Linked DNA regions of Homo sapiens: region 2 is linked to region 1. The links are contacts of gene promoters, found by promoter capture Hi-C in human tissues and cell types (Jung and others, 2019). All regions are on one chromosome and are shown on one strand. Each heading gives the region's core, a stretch centred on a gene start or on the middle of the fragment in contact. The rest is flanking DNA. Distances are from core to core; before and after follow the strand shown. Region 1 overlaps INO80 (INO80 complex ATPase subunit). Region 2 holds the start of DLL4 (delta like canonical Notch ligand 4).

Region 1 (2,643 bases), core at 45-2,544:
TTTCATAGTTTGTAAATTGTCAGTCTTGGTAATATAAAGAAAAAAGAATGCTAAAAAATACTTTTGGCCAGGAGCAGTGGCTGAAGCTTGTAATCCCAGCACTTTGGGAGGTGAGGCAGGAGGAGAGCTTGAGCCCAAGAGTTCAAGACCAGCCTGAGTAACATGGCGAGACCTTGTCTCTACAAAAAAATTTAAAAATTAGCTGAGTGTAGTGGCATGCACCTGTAAACCCAGCCACTTGGGAGGCTGAGGAGGGAGGATGGTTTGAGCCCAGGAGGTTGAGACCTCAGTAAGTCATGAACGCACCACTGTACTCCAGCCTGCATAACAGAGTGAGACTATCCAAAAAAAAAAAAACTTTAAATTTCACCTTTTCAAAATGAGACCTAACGTGTACCCACCCACTCCAGAAGATTTCAAAGAAATTGGTTTTTAAAATACAACAAAACTCCCTTAAGAGAACAGCAAATAATTCATCTTGATACATGTATAAATGTAAAACTACTCTGCTTGGCTCCATCCCAAGCTTTTATTACAGAACAATTAATCCATGCTCTAGTTATTTTACCTGATAAGGAAAATGACACTAATTAAGGAGGTATGACTACCAAGTAATACGGAGTGATTCGAAATGAATGGAATATTTTCTTTTCTTTTTTTTTTGAGACAAAGTCTTGTAGCCGAGGCTGGAATGCTGTGGCCCAATCTCGGCTCACTGCAAGCTCTGCCTCCCAGGTTCACGCCATTCTCCTGCCTCAGCCTCCCGAGTAGCTGGGACTACAGGCGCCTGCCACCACGCCAGGCTAACTTTTTGTATTTTTAGTACAGACGGGGTTTCACTGTGTTAGCCAGGATGGTCTCGATCTCCTGACCTCGTGATTCGCCCGCCTCGGCCTCCCAAAGTGCTGGGATTACAGGTGTGAGCCACTGTGCCCGGCCAATGAATGGAATATTTTCAAAACTTATTCCTCAGTACCTATGTGAGTATGAAATCAAAAACAATTTGTTGAAGAAAGATCACAGTTAACTTCTAGTCTTACAATCCTCAATATATGCTCCCTTTTGACACCCAGTATACATCAGTCCTGTCAACTGATTCATCCCAGAAATCATCTTTGCAGCATATCACCACTGATGGCTGAAATGACAGCTGCAATGAATTCCCTTATGTCCACAATACCACCAAAAAAAGGTGCTGTAAGCACAAAATTCTCCACAAGAAGTCCTATGATGACATCTGGAGAACCAAGTTATATTTTTTAAGTGTTCAATTTTTTTCTTTATGGTGGCAAAAGACATAAAACTTACCATTTTAACCATTTTTAAGTGTACACTTCAGTGGCATTATATACATTCACATTGTTGTGCAACCATTACTACCATTCACAATTTTTTCTTTTTTTTTTTTTTTTGAGACAGAGGCTCCCTCTGTCGCCCAGGCTGGAGCACAATGGGGTGATCTCCGCTCACTACAATCTCCGCCTCCTGGGTTCAAGTGATTCTCTCACCTCCAGCCTCCCAAGTAGCTGGGACTACAGGCGCACCCCACCACACACAGCTAATTTTTGTATTTTTAGTAGAGATGGAGTTTTACCATGTTGGCCAGGCTGGTCTCAAACGCCTGGCATCAAGTGATCCACCCACCTCAGCCTCCCAAAGTAGTGGGATTATAGGCATGAGCCACCCACCCGGCTGACAATCATTTCTTAATCACCTTTTAAGATTGCTGGCCTCTCAATTCAGCCTAGTCTTGATTAGCATGTTAAAAGCTGCTGCTGCAATAACCACTTTCATCTCCTCATTTGTCTCTTATTCCCTACAAGGAAACTGCATGGCCATCAACCTGACCCATCTGTTATCGTCCAACTTCAGCAAAACACTTGATAATTCTCAATAACCCTTTTACCCACCTTCTACCAATTGTTTCTCATTCTCTACCAAGATTACTTCAAATCTTTTTTCCCTCTTCCTCAAAATGCTGAAGTCATTCCCCGCTCATCTTGGAAGAGCCTGAAGAGCAAATCATTCCATCCTCTTTTATTTCACCTTAGCTCAATAGTTTCCTCTTACTTGCTGTGATATTTGAGTCACCAACACAAACAGACTTTATTTGTAACTTTTTTTTTTTTTTTTGAGACAGAGTCTTGCTCTGTCACCCAGGCTGGAGTGCAGTGGCGAGATCTCTGCTCACTGCAAGCTCCGCCTCCCAGGTTCAAGCCATTCTCCTGCCTCAGCCTCCCGAGTAGCTGGGACTGCAGGCGCCCGCCACAACGCCTGGCTAAGTTTTTTTGTATTTTAGTAGAGACGGGGTTTCACTGTGTTAGCCAGGATGATCTCGATCTCCTGACCTCGTGATCCACCCACCTCGGCCTCCCAAAGTGCTGGGATTACAGGCGTGAGCCACCGCACCCGGCCTATTTGTAACTCTTAGTCAAGGTGATTCTCCATACTAGTACAAAAGATATGACTATTTCTTGGCGGGCATGGTGGCTCATGCCTGTAATCCCAGCACTTTGGGAGGCTGAGACGAGCAGATTACAAGGTCAGGAATTCGAGACCAACCTGGCTAACACAGTGAAATCCCGCCTTTACTAAAAATACAAAAAAGTAGCTGGGCTTGGTGGCACGCACCTGTAGTCCCAG
Region 2 (2,643 bases), core at 53-2,552, 170 kb before region 1:
AGCCACAGGGCCCCCGCTGCCCTCGGCGTCGCAAAGAGAGAGCTCCCCGGCACCCCTGAGACTGGGAGAAGCCGGCCCTCCCCGGTCTGCGGTCTCCGGGGATCACGCCGGGTTCCGAGAAAGCAGCTGCGCTGCTGCCGCTTGGAGGAGTGGGGCCACCCAGGGGACCCTCTCGGGCGAGACTTGGGAAGCCGCCTGAAACTCAAACAGCTCCGCAAGCCTCCAGTTCCACCCCACATCCCGCCTTATGAGGCGAGGACCCGGGCCGACCCGGCCTCAGTCCCTCACCTTGATTCTCCAGTGGCCTGAGCCAACTCTGGCGTCAGGAGAGTTCCTCCTTGCCCCAGCTGAGCGACAGGGCGCGGCCGGGGGCTTGGGGCTGCTGGGGTGGGGGGAGGCAGTGGGCGCAGGAACTGAAGCTGGACTCAGGTGAGGGGACGCGCTGGAGGCGGGGCCAGAACCTCATTACCATACAGCTGAGGACGCGCCCCCCTCCTACCTCCGGGACCACGCCCCGCCCTCCCCCACCTCAGGGACCGCGCGTCTGGGTCTCTGGCACGCGCCAAGCCCTGGCAGGGGGCAGAAGGGAGAAGGCACGCGCTGGGCACGCCCCCCCTTAGCTAGAGAGGGAGACGCCCAACAGGTGCACAGAGAGGGCCCCGAGCCTTAGACCCTTAGCCCCTAGCCTTGCTCAGAGTGGCCACAGAGAGGTTAACGCTTCTGCTGGCTTCCCTGCTGCGCTGGGGACGCGTGGTGGGTGGGCACTCATAGGTTGGGGGCCGTTGAGACAAGGGCTCCAGAAGCTCCAGGAAGGAAAAGGAGATCGGATTTCCCTAGCGCTGGTTTTTGCATTCCGGGCTTAAGTTCTTTTTACCTGCTTTGGAACACTAGGTAACTAGCGCCTGCTGCGGATGCACAGCCTACAGGGACTGCCTAGTGTCTCCGCCCCCAAGACCATCCCCGAACCACCCACTCACCTCCTGCCCCATTACCGGGCAACCCCTCTATCCTCCGGCGGCCAGGGTCTCAGCCCTTAACCCCGCCATCACGGAGGACTGGTCACCTCGGCACGCGCAGAGCTGGGGGACCTAGAGGTTGGGAGCGGCACGGAGGGGCGGGGACCTGCGCCCGACTGGCTGACGGGGAGGGGGGAGCGGCGGGGGCGGAGGCCCCCTCCGGGCGGCGCTGGGACTGTAGCAGCTAGAGGCCGGGAGGGGAGGGGAGAATGACCATGAGTCTGAGTGACAGGCGGCGAGGAGAGGAGCCAATATATATAAGGAAGGCCCCCAGCGCGCAGGTTTCAGTAGCGGCGCTGCGCGCAGGCCGGGAACACGAGGCCAAGAGCCGCAGCCCCAGCCGCCTTGGTGCAGCGTACACCGGCACTAGCCCGCTTGCAGCCCCAGGATTAGACAGAAGACGCGTCCTCGGCGCGGTCGCCGCCCAGCCGTAGTCACCTGGATTACCTACAGCGGCAGCTGCAGCGGAGCCAGCGAGAAGGCCAAAGGGGAGCAGCGTCCCGAGAGGAGCGCCTCTTTTCAGGGACCCCGCCGGCTGGCGGACGCGCGGGAAAGCGGCGTCGCGAACAGAGCCAGATTGAGGGCCCGCGGGTGGAGAGAGCGACGCCCGAGGGGATGGCGGCAGCGTCCCGGAGCGCCTCTGGCTGGGCGCTACTGCTGCTGGTGGCACTTTGGCAGCAGGTAACACGTCCCGCGCCCTCTCCGTCCCCTCTGCCGCGCTCTGGGCCTCAGCCCCGGGCACCAGCTGAGCTGACCGGTCCCCTCCCTCCTTCCCTCGGTCCCTGTGCAATAGCGCGCGGCCGGCTCCGGCGTCTTCCAGCTGCAGCTGCAGGAGTTCATCAACGAGCGCGGCGTACTGGCCAGTGGGCGGCCTTGCGAGCCCGGCTGCCGGACTTTCTTCCGCGTCTGCCTTAAGCACTTCCAGGCGGTCGTCTCGCCCGGACCCTGCACCTTCGGGACCGTCTCCACGCCGGTATTGGGCACCAACTCCTTCGCTGTCCGGGACGACAGTAGCGGCGGGGGGCGCAACCCTCTCCAACTGCCCTTCAATTTCACCTGGCCGGTGAGCACAGCCTGGGCGCACTGGGAGGTCGCAGAAGCCGAGAGAGGAGGCGCCCTGGGACCAAAGCCCCCTCCCCAGATTTCCTTGTACACACACCCCCACCCCCAAAAAGCCCAGGATGCATTCTTTCCTGGCTCTTCCCGACTCTCTCCTGAGACTGATCCCAGAAAAGGCTCTCACCAGTCTCCGTCTTCCCAGTTTATGTCCTCCCGTCCCCAGCTCTTGGGACACGATTTTCATTACCTACCACTCTGGGGCGGTACCCTACCACCCCCTCCTCCAGTGGCTCTCCCTTACACTCTCCCGTCTCTCAACCCTCCCTCTACCGGGGGTTCTCCTCTCGCCTTCCCTGCTCAAGCGCTACACTGTGCACAGCCCCGTTATGTTGACCCGGGCGCAGTAACTGAATCCTGCAATTAGATTAATTAAACAGGCTGCCGCAAGGCACCCCCACCTCTCCCCGCTTGCTCATCTCGCCATCTCTCCGTCCCCCCACCCCCTTTCCCAGGGTACCTTCTCGCTCATCATCGAAGCTTGGCACGCGCCAGGAGACGACCTGCGGCC

Evidence for each region. Contacts are between HindIII fragments. The study calls those that stand out against the background at their distance.
Region 2: the fragment with the promoter of DLL4 here is called in contact with a fragment that was not itself captured in region 1 in 2 of the 25 tissues and cell types used here (bladder and dorsolateral prefrontal cortex).

Annotation. Positions count from the first base shown.
Region 1 is chr15:41,099,435-41,102,077 of GRCh38, forward strand. The region is part of intron 1 of INO80 (INO80 complex ATPase subunit); the gene reads right to left. Among named protein-coding and RNA genes, the nearest start is that of INO80, 16 kb to the right of the region's middle. The HindIII fragment of the contact is 3,775 bases long and covers 1-2,643 here.
Region 2 is chr15:40,928,038-40,930,680 of GRCh38, forward strand. It overlaps DLL4 (delta like canonical Notch ligand 4), which reads left to right and starts at 1,303. Exons shown (of 11, transcript NM_019074.4): 1 at 1,303-1,697; 2 at 1,810-2,079; 3 at 2,588-2,643. The coding sequence starts at 1,632. RefSeq lists silencers at 445-514, 1,108-1,197. The HindIII fragment of the contact is 17,329 bases long and covers 1-2,643 here.